Regions from separate parts of the Homo sapiens genome. Here all the other regions are linked to region 4. Evidence: promoter capture Hi-C in 16 types of primary human blood cells and fetal thymus (Javierre and others, 2016). All regions are on one chromosome and are shown on one strand. Each heading gives the region's core, a stretch centred on a gene start or on the middle of the fragment in contact. The rest is flanking DNA. Distances are from core to core; before and after follow the strand shown.

Region 1 (2,952 bases), core at 447-2,946, 4.2 Mb before region 4:
TTGACTGTATTAACAGATTAAGGTACTCCCAAATTGTGATACTTTTGTCAATGAAAAGTGTCAAACTCTAAAATATTCTAAGAGATTTATTCTGAGCTAAATGTGAGTGACCATGGCTCATGACACAGCCCCAGGAGATCCTGAGAAAATGTGCCCAAGGTGGTCGGGCTACAGCTTGGTTTTATACATTTTAGGGAGACCTAAGCCATCACTCAGTACATGTAAGATGTACATTGATTTGGTCTGGAAAGCTGGGACAACTCGAAGGGTGAGGGGGGCGGTCTTCCAAGTCACAGGTGGATTCAAAGATTTGCTGACTGGCAATTGGGTGAGAGTTCATTTAAATCCCTGGAATCAGTAGAATGGAGTGTCTAGGTTAAGATAGGGGTGTGGAGGCTGGGCACAGTGGCACGCGCCTGTAATCCCAGCACTTTGGGAGGCTGAGGCGGGTGGATCACAAGCTCAGGAGATCGACATCATTCTGGCTAACATGGTGAAACCCTGTCTTTACTAAAAATATGAAAAATTAGCTGGGCATGGTGGCGGGCACCTGTAGTCCCAGCTACTCAGGTGGCTGAGGCAGGAGAATGGCGTGAACCCGGGAGGTGGAACTTGCAGTGAGCTGAGATCGCACCACTGCACTCCAGCGTGGGTGACAGAGCGAGACTCTGTCTCAAAAAAAAAAAAAAAAAAAGATAGGGGTGTGGAGACCAAGGTTCATATTATGCAAATGAAGCCTCCAGGTAACAGGTTTCAGAGAGAACAGATTGCAAATGTTTCTTTTTTTAAAATTTTTATTATTTTTTAAAGAGATAGGATCTTGCTTTGTTGTCCAGGCTGGTCTAGAACTCCTAGGCTCAAGTGATCCACCTACCTCAGCCTCCCAAAGTGCTGGGATTATAAGCCTAGCCTGTAAATGATTTTTTTTTTTCCCCCAAATGCAGTCTCCTCACCCCCGCCCCTAGACGGAGATGGAGTCTTGCTCTGTCACCCAGGCTGGACTGCAGCGGCGCGATCTCAACTCACTGCAACCTCTGCCCCCTGGGTTCAAGCAGTTCTCCTGCCTCAGCCTCTCGAGTAGCCGGGATTACAGGCACCTGCCACTGCGCCTGGCTAATTTTTGTATTTTTAGTAGAGACGGGGTTTCACCATGTTAGCCAGGCTGGTCTCGAACTCCTGACCTCAGGTGATCCACCCGCGTCGGCCTCCCAAAGTCCTGGGATTACAGGTGTGAGCCGCTGCGCCCAGCCACAAAACAGTCTTTATTATGAGAAAGCAGTGTTATCTAGTCTTTATTATAAGAAAGCAATGCTATCTGGTTTCTTTCTAATAAAATAAAAGCAGTTTTCTTAAATAATTTACAAAGGGCAGAAATTGCTCTTGAACAGGGCTACCCCTCCTGGCACACCCACAGTGCTCTGCCTTGAACATATAAATAGGTACCTGTGAGCCCAGGGTTTAAGCCTGGAACTATCTCCTATGCCTTCCTCCAGGTCCCTGGTAGGGAAAGCAGGGATGAGAGTGGTGCCCCCAAGGGCCTTGGCACTGGAAACACAGTGGGCGAGTGACTCTGTGGATGACTCCCCAAAAACCAAGCACCTGGTTTGAGTTCAGAGCTCTCAAACATCTGATGCCAGCTCTTCACATTGTAGATGAAGCAAATACCAGGCTCAAGGTCAAGTATACGATGCATTACTAAACCCAAGAGTCCCCTTGGGGAGTAGAAGGAACAATTCTCCCCACCTCTGCAAGATCTCCCCAAGACACTCTCAGGCTGTGGCAGGCAGTCACTGATGGGTCCAGATGTGGCTGGAGCAGGGGGGCTCTGGGCTCCTTGCTAGTCAGGTCTTTGTTAGCAGTGGCCCAGGGGTACTGATGACTCCTGGGAGCTTCCGCCAGGAAGCTCATGGGGAAGCACAGACATTCTGGGGTACGAAGCCTTGGTGGTCAGACAGGGCTTGTTTCCTGCAGGGCACTTCCTCAGTCATGAATGAGAGTGTCATTTCACCACTCTCTTCCGCCATAATGGCTTCATCCAGCTCTTGGGACAGCTTCTGGAGATGCCGAATTCCTGCTCCCCATAGGTGCTAGGTCACTATCAGATGCGCTGGGAGAGCAGAGGAGCTCTGTCAAGGAGTAGGGGCTCTGGAAGGCAGTCTCCCGCCTCCACTGCCGTAGAGGGTAGGCACGTGAGCCTGTCCAGGTAGAGAGGTGGTGATGCACAGGGGTCTGTAGCTGAGTGGTCAGGGGCAGCTCCATACAGCTGAATCCTCTTCTGGCTCAGGCTGTGAGTTGGGGAGACACTGCTCTCCCTTTTGTACCCCTTTCTTCCTCCTCCTGGCCTTCACCTGGGTCTCCACCAGACACTTGGTGCTACTTTGGCAGGACTCCTGGATTCTCTGTGACATGGCACCCAGGGTGCTCTTAGCTGAGCGAGCTGCAGCCTGGAGTCTCTTACTGCCCTGACCCTGGTTTCTAGGGGTTTCTAGGAGGTACCTGTCCGGAGGTTGAGGTTGACGGCTCTTAGGGGCAGCCTTCTTTGGAACTGTCTGCACAGAGAACCCAGGGCCCTGGCGGAGATCTCCCAATGGCTAACCATAGGCTGCCGCTCCTTGCTGTCCAGCGGCTGCTCCTGGTGCTGGAGAGATCTCCGGTGCATGGAGGCCCTCGCATCCTGCCACTGAGAAACCATCTGTCTGGCCAAGAGTCTACTCTGCCCACTAGACCTCAACACCCCCAACATGTGCCTGAAGCCGAGCACTGTAAATGTTAAATGTTTCTTATAAGACTTAAAGAGACAACTTTGCAGGGCCATTTCAAAATTTGTCAAAGCTATATATTTTGGGCCAGATGTGGTGGTTCATGCCTGTCATCACAGCACTGTTGGAGGCTGAGGGAGGAGGATTGTTTGGACCCAGGAGTTTGAGACCAGCTTGGGCAACATAGCAGAGA
Region 2 (3,292 bases), core at 151-2,650, 4.9 Mb before region 4:
AATAAGGAAAGAATAATAGTTTATAACTGTCAGGTACTACTGGCATCTAGTGGGCAGAGACCAGGGATGCTGCTAAACATCCTGATGTGTACCAGGCAGTCTTCTCCAACAAAGAATGATCCAGCCCAAAATGGCAGCAGTGCTGAGGCTGAAAACCCCTGATTAGATGTTCTTTGTGCCCTACAAAGTAGCTTAAAGTACATCTTATTTTACCTTTATACAATCTTACAACTAGGTTATCGGATGAAATTATAGCTGTTTAACAGACGAAGAACTTAGATCTGATGATGTTTAGTGGTTTTTCCAGAATCATATAGCCAGGACCCCAACCCAGATCTTCTGACTCCAAGTCACATCCATTTTTTGTTCTTTTGTTTAAGTCAGAGAAGCTAGAGTAATTTCTTCTTGCTTTCTCTTAGTGTTCACATTAAGGAGAGCTCTTCAGCCAGGGAGATCCTCTTTTATGACATTGGGCCTTTATGGAATCAGGTAACCTTAATTCTCTTAATTGCCAGAGCAGCAGTGCTATTCATATGAAAATATTATTCAGTAATACCTTTTATTAAATATTCTTTTTAGGCTTTTCCCCCCTCAGATATCAAACATTAACTTACTCAGGTGCACTTTCTTTAATAGAAGAATACAAGCTGTAGAATTGACACTAGTGGACATAAAAGCCAATCATGAATGTGCTCATAGGTAATGTTTTTAAATTAAATATAAAAATACCGCCCATCCTTTGGGAATATCTCAAATTTCCTACATGACATTTTAATTGTAAAGAAGGGTGATACTTAATTTCCAAAATTTCTTAATACTTTCTAGAAATTGTTTTGTTCTAAGTGGATTTCCCACAAGCTTTATGGTATTAGCAAATACTTCTTGATATATTCAAACTGTTTAATTAGCATTAAAACCCAATTGCAAGGATTCTTTTTAAATATAGCTTTTTAAAGATCTTATTTACATGGATAAGAGTTTCGTTAATACTTCCCTTTGGCCAAGTGCAATGTACTGAGTCTAATGTACTTCTTGGAATGAACTACCTCTCTTAATAAGAGCAATCCTTCAAGCATCACAAAAAAGGTTTTGTATATATATCTTTAAAGTCACTAAAATGTCTAACCTAGTCATAGGTAAAGAAATGCAAAGACCCTAATCTTGTAATCTTGTTTTTTGCTCGCTCTTCAAAATGTGTATACTATGCCATCAGTCAAATGTGGAAGAAAAAGCAACTTAGCAAAACAGCACTATTTATCAATTTAGTAGTCTCTCAGATCATACAGAAATTAACCTTTAATACCTTAGGACTCCCTGTGGGTCAGACTGTACAATTTTTTATACCTCTTCTACCATATTACTGGCTCTGAAGAACTGACAAACTTTTGTACGGTAACCCTTCCTTCTTTCCACTGTCCATCTGCCCTTAAAAGAGTGAGCTTTATAGATTAGCCTGGCTCCTTTTTACCAAGGAAGACACGCAGCTAAGAGCAAATTACCAGTAGAGTGTGTGACATTTTGCTGACTCTTCCTTTGTAGAGAAGGTCCTGCCAAGTAGCAGTGTGCTACCTAAGCAAAGTAAATGTAAATGTGGAAGTTTCTTGCCCAGTATTTAGACCATATGAACTACAGTTTTCTAATGCATTTGCTTGCTGGTAAGTTGGAAGGGACTTCGAGAAAAGAAATAGATTTTCTTAAATGTTTTTTATTAAAACTTGAGTTTTAAAAACCATATCCTTTCTCCTTTCAGCCAGTACATCTAATTTGTTACATTTATATTTGAAGAAAAGGGAATAGGTAGCAGATTATTGGATTCTTTGAAGTTTTTCTAGATTTTTTTTGTTCTAGGACTTTAATAAGGGCAGTAAGAACACAGATCATTGTTTTGCATGGATTTTCTTTACTTTTTCCCATATTTTCTTTTTGTCACTATCTAAGCTTCCAAGAATCTATTTTTCACCCACCTTCATCTCAAGTACACAAATGAAATAGATTATTGGGATTGTGAAACTATGTAAGACATTCTAATGCAGTTCATCTGATGTTAGAAGAATACCTAAATTTTACATTTCTTTTAAAAATCCAAATGTCAAAGAGGAACAGGTAGAATGCCTAAATATTACAAAAAAAGAGGAACAACCTTTTTCAGTTTAACATGTAGAGTAAGAGAATAAGTAGTTAAGAAAGCGAATTATTTTTCATGCTTGTAGCATCAGTAATGGAAGATGGGTTGTTCTGCTCTGGAGCCTTTGTGTGAGTAGTTATAGCATTTAAGGAAATAAACTGTAATTATAATGCATTCTAAAATCTACTGGAAAAAAATACTGTCATATACATATATACTTACCACCTATAAAAGATTTAATTAAACATTAGTCTTCTGCACTTCTACTCTGATATAAAATTTGTTGTACATGGTTCATACCGGCTTGATTGCTTTTATAAAGTGAAATGAGTTTCCCAAATGTGATATGCAAAAGTAAAATTTTCTAAATTACAGACATTTTTAATGCTATTATATCATCATAGATAAATTTATTTCTTAGTTCAGATTAGATTATAATGCTTGATTTCAAGTACTTGAAAACCATCCATTCTATAGATGAACATTGCCTTGAAGTGCTTCAATTTGAGAACCTTGAACAGTGTTGCTTTAGTGTACCTTTTGTTATTTCTAAGCCTAAAATAATATGGCATAACATTCGAGAGCAATAAAATGCCTTGACCAAAGAGGATTTTCTGTCTTACATACTGTTCTTAAGGATATGCAAAAGAAGATTGAATATACAAATGTTTTTGAGTCAGATCTTACTGAAATAGATAAGATTTTTGCCTAGTTTCCTGAAGAACCTGAACTTAATTGATATTTATTGTTTGTTATATCATTCTTAAAGCTAAAAAGAAACCTTAGGTGTCCTTATGATTTCAGCCGCATTTAGATCTCTTAACTGAATAAAAAACGCGTATTCGCTTTTAATTTCAGTCAAGGACGTTTAGCTCTATTGTATATTGGTTTTTTACTAACAGTATGATAAGTAGTAAATTGGAGTAAGTAGAATGTAGAGAGGCCCAAACATTTTAACTGAAAAATAGATGAGTAGTTAGGCTTCTAATACTTGTATCTTGTTGCCCTCCTTCAGAAGTTTCAAATGTCAGGTATTGGCAAATAAATTATCTAGGTGGGGAGGGCTTTATAGAATGCTTAAACAACTGGAAGCAGAGATGCTTTTCAAGGACACCTGAGCACTATTTTGCTTTCTCCACCAGGATGAAAATATCACTTTTTTAATAG
Region 3 (2,928 bases), core at 290-2,789, 3.7 Mb before region 4:
AAGCATCTTTAACATTTGATGTCCAGCACTTAAAAGGTTTTTCTTTAATGTTTTGGTAGGTTATAGTGAGTTGAATCCTTTAAAAAAAACAAAAAATACGAACTTCCACAATTTACTTTTTTTTTTTTTGAGATGGAGTTTCGCTCTTGTTGCCCAGGCTGGAGTGCAATGGCATGATCTCGGCTCACTGCAACCCCCGCCTCCCGGGTTCAAGTGATTCTCCTCCCTCAGCCTCCCGAGTAGCTGGGATTACAGGCATGCACTACCACGCCTAGCTAATTTTGTATTTTTAGTAGAGACGGAGTTTCTCCATGTTGGTCAGGCTGTTCTCGAACTCCCAACCTCAGGCGATCCACCTCGGCCTCCCAAAGTGCTGGGATTATAGGCCTGAGCCACCGTGCCCACCCTCACAATTTACTTTTAAGTGGCCATGTATATGGCAGCTTAAAATACTCTCAAAACTAAAAACCTACATTTCCTAAAAATACTCTTGTGCAATTCAGGCTTTTCATTAAATCTGGCTTGATACTGTACCCCCTTGTGTATTTACAGGATTAAAGCATTAACTTTGAAATTAGCCATATCTAGGTTTGAGGTCCTGACTTTACCCCTATCGTCAGCTTTGACCAAGTTATCTTATTTTCCCCTAGCCTCAGTTTCCTTAGAAACTTAGAGGATTCTTATAGCAGACAGAGGATAATGCATTTTAAGAACTAAGAATGGTTAATATCACATAGTAAGCTTTAATAAATGCTAGTTCTCAGTGAATGTGGTAAGGTTTAACACAATTCCAATTAAGTCAAATTTCTGGTCAGTTATTCATAAATTTGGGGAGTAAAAATAAATCAGAAAATTTATGTACAGTTTTAGGTAAGGGGGAAAAGGTTTAGGGAAGTGTCCTTTGCCTGTGAGGAAAGGATTCATAACACTTTTATTACACAGGTATCTTCAGAGGGTCCAGTTTCAGTCATTAAAGCCATGATAATAAGTGTGTATTTTATGTTCTCAGCATTATGCTTAGTGCTACATATGCATTATTTCATTTAATCTTCATTAGAAAACTTTGAAATAATTACTGTTAGTGTACATATGAGGAAATTGAGGCTCAAAGAAGTTATTCGACTTGTCCAAGCTCACATAGCTAGCAAATAAAAGAAATGAGATTCAAACCCAAGTCACTTGTGTCTGCACACCACACCTTTTCTTAAATAGACCTATATATCTTTTTTTTTTTTTTTTTTTGAGACGGAGTCCTGCTCTGTCACCCAGGCTAGAGTACAGTGGCACAATCTCGGCTCACGGCAACGTCTGCCTCCTGGGTTCAAGGGATTCTTCTGCCTCAGCCTCCCGAGTAGCTGGGACTACAGGTGTGCGCCACCACGTGGTGCCTGTCTAATTTTTGTATTTTTAGTAGAGATGGGGTTTCACCCATATTGGCCAGGCTGGTCTTGAACTCATGACCTCGTGATCTACCTGTCTCCCAAGTGCTAGGATTACAGGCGTGAGCCACTGCGCCTGGCCAAATAGACCTATATATCTTATTTAACTCTTTATTTTGAAAAAAAGTTAAAACCTACAGAAAATATACAAGGGTAGTAAAATGAACTCCTGTATAACTCTTCACTGGGATTCATCAGTTTTTACCAATTTGCCATATTTGCTGCATCTCTCTTTTTCTAATACATATTGTGTATCTATTTCTTTTCAGTGAACCATTTGAGAGTAAATTGAACCAGTTCACAGTTCAGCAAATTTAGCATGGCTACATTATTATCTAATATATAGACGATATTCAGATTTTACCAGTGGTCCCAATTCTATCTTTTATAGCAGTTTTTCCCAATTCAGGATCCAGTCTAGCACTTGGCTTTCAGGTCTCTTTAGACTCCTTGAATTTGGAACATATCTTCAGCCTTTCTTAGTCTTTCATCAGACCACGCTTTTGACAGCCTGGCTATTCTAGGTGAGAAAACAAGAAGCCCTTGGCCACGGAGGTGGGGAGAGCTAACCTCATCCTTCAACTGGCTTCTTCAGGTGCCTGGAGAGTGTCCCAGCTGCTGCAGACAGCCACTCATTGTCAGTAGGAAATGACTGTTGAGGACTGTGTATGTTTTTGTGCCTGTGTGTTTCTGAGCTCTTTTGCTGAAAGGCACTGCAAGTGTAAACAACTTATGATTATCACTTTTTGTGGCTTAAAGCCGGTCTCTTGTCACTGGCTTACAGTTTCTAGTTCTTTCTCAATGGTCACATGTTTTGGTTTCTGTCCCCATTTAGTCTCAAAGAAGATGGAGCAGGAACCCCCTATGACAAGGAATCCACAGCCATCATAAAGCTTAATAATACAACCGTGCTTTATTTAAAAGAGGTGACAAAGTTCCTGGCTCTCGTTTGCTTTGTCAGAGAGGAAAGCTTTGAAAGAAAAGGTAACTTTTTGGTGTGATTTAAAAGAAGCATTAAAAGAAGCATCAGACTGCTACTGCATGTATTGTTTGTTGAATGTGGGTGGACAACAGCATAGCCCTCGAAACTTCCAGATGCCAGTCACAGGCCCTCTTGGCTTGGAGTTCAGAGCGGGGCGGGCTCCTGCCCCCAGTGTCAGCTTCTGGGCCAGTGAACTGGCCTGCCCTCTAGTGGTGCATCTGCGATTGCAGCGAGGTGGAAGTGGAACCCCATGATCCTCCCAGGGGCCTTGGCATCTCTGCTAGGGGGAAGCTAGTTGGGGCACTGTTGCCAGGCTGTGAATGAAGTCTCTTACCAGGGAGCAGACTCCCAGCCTATACTGAGGGTGGAGGTCTCCACTTTGCTCCACACCTCTAGAAGGTCTTAGGTAACCGTGTGATCTTTTGTTCTTCCCATGTAAAGGAGGGGACAACAGGTGGTTTGACTTCTGTTCAGCCTCAAAATACTTCTTAAATCTTCAGAACACAG
Region 4 (2,885 bases), core at 116-2,615:
TAACTGCTTAAAAGGCCAGGGACTGAAACGGAGTATTGCACAACCCTTCACCACCGGGCGGTTTCGCTTCCAAATCTGGCCTTCGTGTCATCCCAAGGCAGGAGCCGCTCCTCGCTCCACTGGAGCCAGCCCCGTTCCCCCTTCAAAAGCAGCCGGGGTTTCCGCGTCCAAGCCTGGGGCGCCCCTCCCTTCGCCGAAGGTTCCCGTGAAAGCGGAGCCGCGCGGCTGCGAGGAGGGCCCACTGTCCAGTTGGGGAGATCGAGTCTCCAAGGGCGACTCTCGCACTCGAGTACCGCCAGTCCGGCGGACCAAAGGTCCGCGGGTCTCCGCGCCGCTCCCCTCCCCCTTGGCCCCATTGTCTGCCTCGCCCCGCCCCGGGGGACACGTGCGCCTGCAGCTTCCCGAGGAGGAGAGCGCGGGGCGGTGGCAGCGGCGTGGACACCGCCTGGAACGGCTACGCGGCCGCGGAGCCGGGGGCGGGGGCCGGGCGCGCACAGACCGGTGGGTGCCCTCCGGGAAGCGGCAGTCGCACTCAGCGCCCACAGCACTCTGCCCCGCCAGCCCCGGACCGGGCAGGGATGGGGCGGGCGGGAGCTCGGTGGGGGTGGCGTGCGCATGGTGTCGCGGGGAGGGGGTGGGGTGGGGCGGGGTGGGGAGATGCCAGTCTCCTGACAAAGGAAAACGAGTGGGACACGCTGAGCCGGCCCGCCCCGCCTGGAGGGGAGAGGGAGGGGGAGTGTCGGGAGGGGAAGGGGCGGGCCTTTCATTCAGTCTCGGCCCCTCGGCCGCCACCGTCGGAGCGGAAGGGCGGGGTCTTGTGCCTCCCCCACCCCCAACCCAAGGGGTGAGGAGCGGGGAAGGCGGCGCGGCGTGGGGGCGGAGCCCGCGGGCGCGCGTCCCGAGGCGTAGGCTACGTTGTCACGTCAGCGCGGGAGAGAGAAAGAGAGGAGCCGACTCGGCAGGGACTGGGGGACCGGGCCGAGAGTGCGAGCGAGCGAGGGAGGGAGTGAGGGAGCGTGCGAGCCAGAAGGGGAAAGGCGGCCACTCGTGCCTGAGCGACCGCAGAGGGGAGTGGGAGCAGTGGGGTAAAGGAGCGGGGGGCGGGAATAAGAAAGGCCGAGAGAAGGCGGACAGAGGCTAGTGGTGGTGGTGGTGGTAGGGGGAGAAGGAGGAGCTGGAGGAGGGCAGGGGCTGAGGGAGTGAGTGAAGCGGACGCGCGAGGGAGGGGAGGGAAGGGAAGGGAAGGGAAGGGGGGGTCACGCGGGGGCGCGCGCGCGCACCGGGAGCGCGCTCGGAGGCGAGTGGAACTGGATCGGGTTTGCTGCCAGCGGCGTGAGCTTCGGCCGCCATTTTACAACAGCTCCACTCGCGCCGGACACAGGGAGCAGCGAGCACGCGTTTCCCGCAACCCGATACCATCGGACAGGATTTCTCCGCCTCAGCCCAACGGGGAGGTAACGACTGCCAGAACCTGGGTGTGGGAGGGGAGCTCCATGACATTGTGGAGTGAGCTGGGGGAGGGTGGCGCGGGTAGAAACCGGCTTTTCTGGAAAATGGATTCCAATGGGGAGAAGAGCACGTTGACTGGGGCTGCCTGGGAGTAGGCCGCGGCCCGCGCCGCCACTTCCTCCTTTCCATGTGCTGCTGCGGTTCGGGCTTTGTCTGCGGCGCTTTGGGAGGAGGCGCCTCCACGGTCCCGTGGCCCGCACGGACCGCGAGCGGCTTCAGAGTTGGTGCTGTCGTGGCGGTCGCCGCGGCGCGGGAGTGGGCGGAGAGGAGTGGGTCTTGTCCTGCAGCCGTGCGGCGAGCTTGGGCGGTGCTCACGGTCCCGCGGGCGTTGAGCCGTCCGCTGAACGCCCTCACGCTGCTGGGTTGCCGGGCAGGCGTCGCAGTCACTGCACGGAAGGGTAAGGGGTGGGGACCTGCACAGCGCGCCACGGGTCACGTCTCGGCCGGGCGGGCGGCCGGGGGTCGTCGGCGCCCGGGGAGCGCCAGGGGCGGAGAGCCATGTGTCACGGCGGAGACGGCGGCGCTGGGGGGCGGGGAGAGCCTGTGGCCTGGCGCCGCCGGTGCCTCGGTGTTCAGGGGAGAGATTGTGCTGCTGCAGCTTTCTGGGGGCTCCGACCGCGGCTTCGGGTTGATGTTGGGAACCAGTGATGGTCGTCTTGGTTTGGGATTCGTTGGGTTGCCGTTGAAGGAAGTTGTAGGACATTGGAAGGCGCAGAGCACGTGTTTCTAATGGGCTCCTGGCGGCCGCAGTGGTGAGACTGCCGCTCTGGGTGCGGAGTCAGGGGCGGGCTTTGGGGTGCGGGGTTAAAGGGTGGAGAAATTGGGTGGTGGGAAGGTGGCTTGTATGAGCGCTTTGTTCTTCGCTGGCTGTTGTTACCGATCTATAAGCGGCAGGCGGGAAAAGCGCGCACTTTGGGGGTTTATCTTTGAGAGAGAGGAGCCCAGTTTTGCTTTCTCCACACACACCTCATTTTCCGAACGGGCACAGCTGCATGTGGCACGCTGGCTCGTACCCGTGCTGATTGGGCTCTATTTGTAATATGGTTTTTCCTAGGGAGTGTTAGCAGGTGAGTCAGGGGTGGTGCTGAGGAAGAATATGGTGAATCGGTCCTTCTGTGCCCTGTGCTCCAAATCTGGCTTGTCAGGCGATAGTGACTGTAAGGCTTTTTTAAAGGGAGGTATAGGCTAGCTGGTGTAGTAAATGGTAGAGAAAGTAAAGATGGGGCTCTCATATTGTCTTGTATTCTTTTTGAAGATCCTAGTTTAATTTTGCTTATTGCGTTTGAACAGATCTCTGGAAACATGGCTACAGAACATGTTAATGGAAATGGTACTGAAGAGCCCATGGATACTACTTCTGCAGTTATCCATTCAGA
Region 5 (2,911 bases), core at 357-2,856, 4.0 Mb before region 4:
AATTGGTTTTTAAAATTTTTTACCTACAAGAGGTTACTCTTCATGTAGGTCCAAAAAAGAAGAAAGAAAAATTCATGGACCATATTTCTCAAGGTCACTTTCTTTCTTTTTTTTTTTTTTTTTAAAGACAGGGTCTTGCTCTGTTGCTTAGGCTGGAGTGCAGTGGCATGATCATAGCTCACTGTGGCCTCAACCTTCTGGGCTTAAGCAGTACAGTCCTCCCACTTCAGCCTCCTGAGTAGCTGGGACCATAGGTGTGTGTCACCATGCCCGGCTAAATTGTTTTTTTTTTTTTTTTTGAAGACAGGGTTACAGGGTTTCACTCTGTTGCCCAGGTGGCTCACTGTAGCCTCAACTTTCCTGGGCTCAGGTGATCCTCCTACCTCAGCCTCCCAAGTAGCTGGGACCACAGATGTGGGGTCTTGCTGTGTTGCCTGGGCTACTCTTGAATTCCTGGACTCAAGTGATCCTCCCTCCTTGGCCTCCCAAAGTGCTGGGATTACAGGTGTGAGCTACCACGCCTGGCCCTCAAGGTCACTTTTTATTCGATGTCTACAGCAGACCATTCCTATCAGTGTAATGGATTCTAGGTTTCAACATTTGTGGTACCAGGCCACCAAAGCCTTTGGGTTTGTTGTGACTATAGTAGCCTTACTGATGTTATTCCTCTACTTGCCAAACAAAAAAATGTTTTCTTTGGGAATCTTGATGCAAAAAATAGTTGAGAGGCTCTGGTTTAGAGGATATTCTGATTCCTAAAATCATTAACTTTCTAATTCACAGCTTGCATTTGAATCTTTGGCTGTGATTGGAAATGCTCTAACCCTCCTGGAAGTGGGTCAGATTGCAGTGTGTAGGTAAGGTTGCTTTGTAATTCCTTTATGAAAACTTTTCACAACCTGTTTGGTTATTTTGATCACACAGCCAAAAAATAACTCCTGTTGTATTTGGTTTTCCTCCCCCAAGTTTTGGAGAATCTGTAAAGCTGTTACACCCATTTCATGAGCAGTTCAGTGATTACTCTGGGTCCCAGATTCTACGTCTCTGCAAATTCCAACAAAAGAAAACCAAGATTGCTCAGGTAAGAGGATGAAATAAAATGTCTTCTGCACAGTTATTTTTAAACTGGTGTAGGTTGGAGGGAGAACATTTTTATTTTTGAGACAGGACCTTGTTCTGTCACCCAGGCTAGAGTACAATGGCGCCATCATAGCTCACTATAGCTTCGAACTCCCGGGCTCAAGCAGTCCTCCTGCCTCAGCCTCCCTAGTAGCTAGGACTACAGGCGCATGCTACCATGTCTGGCTAATTTTTATTTTTTGTAGGGACAGGGTCTCACTTTGTTGCCCAGGCTGGTCTAAAATTCCTGGGTTCAAGTGATCCTCCCTTCTTGGCCTCCCGAAGTGTTGGGATTACCACCATGCTGGGCTGAGAACCACCCTCCACCGCATACAGTATTAGGACAGGGATAGTCCCAAACCTCAGCCTGTGTACCACTGGAATAGAAGCTTCCTTAGCATCCATTATAAAACAAGGTGTGACTTCTTTTTCTCAGTTCCTCAAGGATCACTTGACTTTGCATCATTGGTTTTCTAGCTCCCTACTTTTTTTTCCGAGTAGTTTGGAACATTCTGCAAAAACAAACCCATCTCCCATACCCTTATCAGCTGGGCCAAGACCTATTTTTCTCCCTCATTAAGCTTAGAGAAGAAATGATATGAAGTAAAGCCAGTGACTTACTTAAGAGAACAAAAGTTCAAAACAGCATGGGATCATATTTCTCCTGGGTCCTGCTCTGATTCAGTTTGCTTTTTCTAGGCTGCCCTGGACATTTTGTATTTTCTTGCCTTCTCTTTTGCTCAGTTGTTTTCTGTTCTTGAAAGAAGACAGCTGTTTGGTTTATTTGAGGGAGTATTGATTTCTTATGCCCCAGGGAAGCACTTCTTTTCCTTTGGGGTATCTTCCAGAACTCTAGTGGGTTATATGTTAGAGAAACGTCTCACCTGTGCTTGAGAATGCCTGTATCATCTAGGCATGGTGGCTCACACTTGTAATCCCAGCACTTTGGGAGGTTGAGGTGTGAGGACCGCTTGAGGCCAGGTGTTCAAAACCAGCCTTGTCAACATAGTGAGACCTCATTTCTACAAAAGACAAAAATAATTATCCAGGTGTGGTGGCACATACCTGTAGTGCTAGTTACTTGGCGGCAGGCTGAGGCAGAGCCCAGGAATCGAGGCTGCAGTGAGATGAGATCGTGCCACTACACTCCAGCCTGGGTGACACAGTGAGACCCTCTCTCAAAAAATAATAATTAAAAAACAGAATGTCTGTATCCAAGGATCCTCCTTTTTTAACTACATACGGCCAGAAGGGACAGTTAGTTGATGGTCTGTAAACCTGAGGTGGTTATCTGATAATCACTTCAATGTCAGAAATACTATCAGTCTCTTTGACAATGAGAAGAGCATTCACATAGTTTTCTAATTGTCTATTCCTGGTTCCGGTTTAGTTTCTAGAGTCTGTTGCCAACATGTTTGCAGCTGCTCAGCAGCTCTCGCAGAACATCAGTTCAGGTGAGCTGCATGCCTTCCTCTTCATTAACAAAATGCTTTCTTGTACTCTATATTCCCAAGCTGCTTGCTTCAGCTCAGTGTCCCCGTCACTGTGTTTTAATAGGTATGCTCCACAGGAAAAGACATAAATTGATGGAGCTGATTTTTACTTATTTATTCATTCATTCAGAAATTTTTGTTGAACCTGTACTCATGAGGCTTATAATCAATGGGGGATCTAGACACTAACTAGTATATACTTACTTGAGTTCAGATTTATAAGAGAAAGGAGCAAGGTGTGTGTGGAATTAAATATAAAGGCTACAATTAACCCTTGAATACCACAGGTTTGTCTGTAC
Region 6 (3,233 bases), core at 197-2,696, 3.9 Mb after region 4:
AGATAAAAATACCCAATTAGAAGAGATATAGTAGACTATATGAAGAGAGATTATATTTGTTACACACCAATATACATCAAAGTGCCTGTTGCCTTCTGAAAATTTGAAGTGGCAAAATTATTTTATGGTTTAATGATTATTTTATTTTATCAGGGACTGCCTCAAGAAGAAAATAACATAAGCTTGTGAATGGTGGAGAAAATGCCCTATTTTTTCTTGCAAATACTTGTATAAAGTTAACATTTGTTGATCTGATATTATCATAGGTACATGTGTATGTGTGTATAAATTATATGTGTGTGTGTATATATACATTTTATATATACATTTTATATGTATATATACACAGTAGATTGACTATGATCTAGAATAATGTCTCAAATAGGAAATGTTTAAATACTGTGTGTTTTTATGTTTTCAACAGGATAACATGAGACGTGGGCATATTGCAATGATGAATTAAATCCACATCTAAAAAAATTAAATGAAGGAGGGAACCAAGTAATATATTTCATAGGAAGAGCAGAAATTATACTGTTTTAGTGGGATTTTTTTTTCTTTTTTTTTTTTTCTTTGGTGAGCCATAAAATTCCACAAATGGGAGAATATTTGTTTGGCAGAGCACTCTTTTTTATATTGAACTGCCATTTTGACAGTTGGAACCCATTTATTAAAAAAAAAATTGCATTCCTCTATGATGTTTAATCTAGTGGATCATGGATCAGTAATAGGCTACTTAAATCCCTGACTGCTAAAAAGGATTTCCGGTGATCTAAACACTACTTGCTAATGTTTAAATGAATTTTAATGAATGCATTCTGCATTTCTGGACCACTAGAATTTAGTAATGTGAAATGACCCTTTTTACAGAATATTTGCACAATTGCTTAAAATTTATATATGAGATATATATTATATATAACATTTTATAAATCATGTCAATATGAAACATCTTTGATCTGGTTGTCACACTGCATTTAAATATTTAGTACTGTACTTTAAATCGCTTTCCATTAAATCAAATCCAACTTTATTTTCTTTCTTACAAAAATACCAGTTATACCTTTGTGAAATGAACTGGCATTACTATTTCAGTTCAATAACAGCTAATCCTAAAACCACCCTTTCTCCTAGCCAGTAGTTCCTCTAGATACTGGTCTCTGAAAATGCATTTGTTAAAAACAAAACAAAACTAACACATAAGAACCTTCCCTTTGTGTTGTGAAACAACCACATAATCTCCACAACCTTAGTGGATGACTGCTTGCTATGATAATTCCTCGAAGACCCAATTAGAAGATTTTCATCATCAGTTAAAGAGAGACCACGGGAGAAAAAAATATCCTCCTGTTGGCAGTATAATTTGTTTGTTTGTTTATCTAGGGATCCTCAGATGCTTAGTGCTAGGTTAATCCAGGTTAATCCGTCTGGACTACCTTTTGTGCATCTTTCTTTGAAGCCTTAATGGGAACCTGATGGGTTTGCTGTAGCAGCTTCCTTGTGAATTCTGTCAGAGCTGCAACAGCCGCTGCACTGCCACTCAGTTTTCTAAGGAACTCCTCCTACTACCATCTTGGCTCAGTCTCCCTCACTTAAGCCCTGGGTTTGAAAAATTAATTGCAACTTCCCAGGAAACATTGTTCAGTTTGCAGATTAAGCCTGGCACTCACCTATCAGAAACCAGAGCTCCGCCTGCTTAGTTGTTTCAAAGTTTTCTGAAAGAAAACTAGGGGAGCACTTGTGAACACAGGAGCAGCTGGTGATCTGCTTTCTTACCCTAACTCTTGACAAATGAGTCGTCTACTATTTTAAAGAGTCTGGAGGTCTCTGACTCTGCCATAACAATAACCTGCTGTTAATTTATAACACAGATTTTTGTTTGGAAGAGCCTTATTTGAAATACACTTTGATTTATTTTCTTAAATATTTATATTCTTTTCTTGCTTACTTCAGGGTTGGTAGCTTAGTTGGAAGTGCCAGCACCTGGCACCTATTCATATAGAACAGGCTGTACTCAAGACAACTTCTAGCATTTACTTTAAGACTTATATAATTTATTTCTATTTTGTGTGTACTATAGTCTTGTGCATATGTAGTTGAACACACAGTGAAATATATGTCTCTCTTTGTGGATGTGCGGCCTAAAAATTTGAATGTCTGGTGAGAGAGAGCCATGTGTATAGGTCAGAGAAAAGAACAGCTCCCGACTCCCTATTAGCGCCTGTGATTTGTTTCCTTTTGTGTTTATCTGGCCTAGTGTGCTGTTTCTTTAAACCAGGAAGAAGTTTTGTCTTTTGGAGGCTCTTCTCACCTGTCCAGCCTGGCATGTCAGAGAACACATAGCCTGTGACAATGCCGTTTTTAAAGGTTTACTTAATTTGCAGTAAATCCAGCTGCCTCAAGAACTCCTACACCAAGATGGACATTTCCTTTCCAGAAATGGGATCAAGTATCTGCTCACTTTGGTATTGGATGGACTAATAATGTAGCTCCAAAAATGCAAGGATGGAAGAATATGTGTAATCCAAACCAAGGAAGGAAATGAAAAGTGAACGTACTGTTTTTACCACCCCTTTCTGTTTGCTTATTGTTGGTTGCTTCACTGTGCATAAAGTTGTTTTCAATGCAACGCTTGTTAAATAAATATTGTGAACTATTTTGTAAATGAAATGTATTATGTTGAAAGCTGTCAGTTCAAAAATAAGCTTTTTTGTTGTTGTTGAAGATGAAGTGTGTTAGGTGAAACCAAAAAGCCAAAAAAAGTAATTTCATATATAGCATCTATTTGAATATAATCTTTCTTTAAAATTTCTTTTAGCATAGCATTTTCAGTGCTAAGAAAGAATCTCTATGTTATATTTTGTTAAAATAATGGCTTTCTAACAAAGCAAATGGTAAAGTACAAAGTTGGAAGATGTCAAGTTAACGAGACTTGCTGCAAAGCCTTGCAGAACGGAGGAGGCTCTGCCTGCTGGCTGTCTCTCCCTCCAACCTCTCTACAATCATGCCTGCTTTGAGGTGTTCTGTTGCAGCAAGCTGCACCTTGGGTCACTCTTTTGGAATATTTTGACTATAGGCTGCGTCACAGGCAGAAAAGGAGTTGATGGAAAATGGACTAAAAAACTGACATGTTTGAATCAGTGCTAGAGGGAACAGATTGTGAATTTTGTTTACAGCATCCAATATTTGGATTTTTTTGTAAATAAAAAAGTTATTTTTTTCTATTGATTTGT
Region 7 (2,869 bases), core at 152-2,651, 3.7 Mb before region 4:
TTTTTTTTTTCTGAAAAAAAAAAAATTATAAAGTATTCAAGGTAATTAACAAAATGTTTACAATAAAGTCTACACTTGATCTTAGCCAAAAGACTGAGAAGCGATGCAATAAAATTTATATATGGCTTTCTGAGGTTTTTTTTTTTTTAAATTTTACTCTAGGAAGACATTGATGTAAAATAAGCTGATTCACACTATCAGTTTAAGTGATAATAACAATGCAACTGGCAAAACAAGTAATCCAGTTAGCTAATGGCAGATATTTTAAGTATAGAAAAGTATATGTGGTATAATGGGATATCAGTTCTTAAAATATCTATGCCTTATAAACAAAACCTCAAGGTAAATATACCAAAATCTGTATCATGTCCTTTTCTAAGCAGGAGGATTATGGGAGATTTGGATTTTGTTCATATTCCACATATTGAACCACTGTATTACTTTTATGATCAAGAAGAAAATCATTTAAAAAAAAGTTTCTAGTGCTAAAGAATAAGTAAAATGTGTGAACCAAGAATAGCTCGGAGGTTGTAAGAAGCATATACTTTTTTCAAATAGTGGAAAACTCAAATGTCACAAAACAGCCTGATTCTTTTTAGTGTAGCAAAAAAACCCAAGTTTCAGAGTCAGAAGACCTGGACTTGAATCAGGGTTCTTTCATTTTCTAGATAAGTCACTGAAGTTTTTTTTGAATAAGTCATTGAAGCTTTAAGAACCTTTATAAAATATATTTCAAAGTATTCAAACCAAATCAAGAAATAGATGAAAATCTAGAAAAATTTCCTCTCATTAACATAAAAAATCATATGCCAGAAAGATAATAATCTGTAGTTGAAAAAACTGAGAAGTAGACACTTGATTTCTCTGAGACCTAAATTATCTTCATCTGTAAAATGGGTATAAATAATCAGTGCCACTTCCAAGGCTGTTATGAAGAATAAATGAGTTGATGTTATGTCAAGTGCCTGATAAACAGTAGATGCTAAAAAACTATAGTCCAGACCTTGCACAAGGATGCAAATGGCGGTGGAGAAAGGGCCTGCACTTCAAAGGACTTCTGGTTCCTAACTAAGGAAAAGATGAATTACACAGGTCAAGGATTGTGGTTCTAAGATGTTTTCTAAGATTCTGAAACATTTTAAACCTCATCTTTTGTCATTTTTATTAGTTACGAAGTCGGCTTTAAGGATTAAAAAAAAAAATCTTAAAATGAAAAAAAAAAGGAGTTTTCCTTAGGATCATCAAAAGTAAAGAAAAAATTACCCCAAATTTGATCTTGGATTAAAACTTTACCTGATATAATTTGTAAATTTTTCTTGAAAGAAATAAGTGTTCTAGTTTAAAAAAATAAGCAATTTTTGGATAAGAAATTTTCCAAGGAAATGAGCTCCCTTCCCACCCAGCTGTCAGTCAAGAATTTAGTAACCTTTAAATAAAATTACTCTTCTCTTTGTATCTGTCTTTTTGAGACAGGGTCTCGCTCTATCACCCAGGCTGGAGTGCAGTGGCACCATCATGACTCACTGCAGCCTGCTCCTCCTCTTCCATCCCCCAGAGCTCAACTGATCCTCCCTTCTCAGCCTCCAGAGTAGCTGGGACCACAGGTACGTATGCCCGGCTAATTTTTGAGTGTGTGTATATTTTTAGTAGAGATGGGTGTCACCATGTTGCTCAGGCTGATCTCGAATTCCTGAGCTCAAGTGATCTGCCCACCTTGGCCTTTTTTTTTTTTTTTTTTTTTTGAGATGGAGTCTCATTCTGTCTCCCAGGTTGATCTCGGCTCACTGCAACCTCCGCCTTCTGGGTTCAAGTGATTCTCCTACCTCAGCCTCCCGAGAAGCTGGGATTACAGGCATGCACCACCACACCCAGCTAATTTTTGTATTTTTAGTAGAGACAGGTTTTTGCCATGTTGGCCAGGCTGGTCTCCAACTCCTGACCTCAGGTGACCTGCCCGCCTTGGCCTCCCAAAGTGCTGGGATTACAGGCATGAGCCACCACACCTGCCAGCCACTTCTCTTTTCTCTGTAAATGTCTCTGCTGAGAGAAATTTTGGAATTGGCTTTGATCTTGGAGCATGATTGTAATTAAGCTTTGATATGTGCCCATAATTAAATTGTTATGGGCACATGTCCACAATAAATTGTTGTTATTGTTGTTAACCAAGGAAGGAGAGATTGTTATTCCTACTGAACCAGTCCTATGGGAGAAGAGCCCCAGGGAGCAGTGGAGGTGGTGGTGGCTAAAGGAGAGCCCCAGAGGACAACTGCACCCAGAGATTGATGGACCTTGGAGGCTGAATAGCAAAAGGCTTCTAGTACTCAGCTATCAAATAGGAACGCATTATATACAGCACCTGCTTTGCAGGCCTTGCTGTGGTAGGGCCTACTGCACAAATTAGGGGCTTTTGTAGAGCTGTGGCAGGAGAGGGTGTCAAGTGTCAGTTAATCTGAAGATTCAACACAATGAATGAATGAAGCAGCATTGGAGTTTGGTTTTGTTTGCATATCTCAGTCAGTCAGATTATCAGTTTACTATACAGAAAACAACATCAGGGAATGATTTAAAATATACCATCTAATTTTAGATATCCTTCACTTTTTTACTCCCAATTTCATCAAGAAACTCACAGATTTAGATTAACTTTAACAATAGAAAACAAATCAAATTTAAGAGTTTATGTCTTTATATAACAGAATAAAACTTGCCCAACCTGATTAACCCTTTCTATCCTCCCCACCTTCCCAATCCCTCCCTCCTTTCCTTTAGTAAGGTCCCTACTCCTTAAGTCTTTTGAACTCAGTCCTCTCTCGATCCCACACATTGGACAATGAAGCAGTAAGTGTGTCCTTTGAAGTTTAACCTTTCA

What was found. Contacts are between HindIII fragments. The CHiCAGO score rates a contact against its expected background, and 5 or more counts as called.
Region 1: a fragment that was not itself captured here is called in contact with the fragment with the promoter of SYNCRIP in region 4 in 1 of 17 cell types (monocytes); the score reaches 7.2 in monocytes.
Region 2: a fragment that was not itself captured here is called in contact with the fragment with the promoter of SYNCRIP in region 4 in 1 of 17 cell types (monocytes); the score reaches 7.0 in monocytes.
Region 3: a fragment that was not itself captured here is called in contact with the fragment with the promoter of SYNCRIP in region 4 in 1 of 17 cell types (fetal thymus); the score reaches 6.2 in fetal thymus.
Region 5: a contact is called between a fragment that was not itself captured here and the fragment with the promoter of SYNCRIP in region 4, in 1 of 17 cell types (total CD8 T cells). The highest score is 5.4, in total CD8 T cells.
Region 6: a fragment that was not itself captured here is called in contact with the fragment with the promoter of SYNCRIP in region 4 in 1 of 17 cell types (total B cells); the score reaches 7.1 in total B cells.
Region 7: a contact is called between a fragment that was not itself captured here and the fragment with the promoter of SYNCRIP in region 4, in 1 of 17 cell types (monocytes). The highest score is 7.4, in monocytes.

What each region holds. Positions count from the first base shown.
Region 1 is chr6:89,814,416-89,817,367 of GRCh38, reverse strand. All of the region lies in intron 1 of MDN1 (midasin AAA ATPase 1), which reads left to right. It also overlaps the pseudogene PIMREGP3. Among named protein-coding and RNA genes, the nearest start is that of MDN1, 3.9 kb to the left of the region's middle. RefSeq lists an enhancer at 1-356. The HindIII fragment of the contact is 7,549 bases long and covers 1-2,952 here.
Region 2 is chr6:90,539,657-90,542,948 of GRCh38, reverse strand. The region is part of intron 12 of MAP3K7 (mitogen-activated protein kinase kinase kinase 7); the gene reads left to right. Among named protein-coding and RNA genes, the nearest start is that of MAP3K7, 46 kb to the left of the region's middle. RefSeq lists a silencer at 1,413-1,613. The HindIII fragment of the contact is 1,080 bases long and covers 861-1,940 here.
Region 3 is chr6:89,371,932-89,374,859 of GRCh38, reverse strand. It overlaps RRAGD (Ras related GTP binding D), which reads left to right. Exons shown (of 7, transcript NM_021244.5): 6 at 2,275-2,423. Among named protein-coding and RNA genes, the nearest start is that of UBE2J1, 21 kb to the right of the region's middle. RefSeq lists enhancers at 1,857-1,976, 2,347-2,566, 2,476-2,770. The HindIII fragment of the contact is 1,591 bases long and covers 744-2,334 here.
Region 4 is chr6:85,641,366-85,644,250 of GRCh38, reverse strand. SYNCRIP (synaptotagmin binding cytoplasmic RNA interacting protein) reads left to right here and starts at 1,365. Exons shown (of 11, transcript NM_006372.5): 1 at 1,365-1,454; 2 at 2,800-2,885. The coding sequence starts at 2,812. RefSeq lists silencers at 286-1,305, 1,896-2,045, 2,266-2,315. The HindIII fragment of the contact is 3,992 bases long and covers 1-2,885 here.
Region 5 is chr6:89,646,202-89,649,112 of GRCh38, reverse strand. It overlaps MDN1 (midasin AAA ATPase 1), which reads left to right. Exons shown (of 102, transcript NM_014611.3): 98 at 784-857; 99 at 967-1,081; 100 at 2,510-2,573. The region is part of intron 1 of MDN1-AS1 (MDN1 antisense RNA 1); the gene reads right to left. Among named protein-coding and RNA genes, the nearest start is that of LYRM2, 8.9 kb to the right of the region's middle. The HindIII fragment of the contact is 192 bases long and covers 1,511-1,702 here.
Region 6 is chr6:81,745,725-81,748,957 of GRCh38, reverse strand. TENT5A (terminal nucleotidyltransferase 5A) reads left to right here. Exons shown (of 3, transcript NM_017633.3): 3 at 1-3,228. Among named protein-coding and RNA genes, the nearest start is that of TENT5A, 5.3 kb to the left of the region's middle. The HindIII fragment of the contact is 2,523 bases long and covers 185-2,707 here.
Region 7 is chr6:89,353,738-89,356,606 of GRCh38, reverse strand. No RefSeq gene overlaps it. Among named protein-coding and RNA genes, the nearest start is that of UBE2J1, 2.4 kb to the right of the region's middle. The HindIII fragment of the contact is 1,386 bases long and covers 709-2,094 here.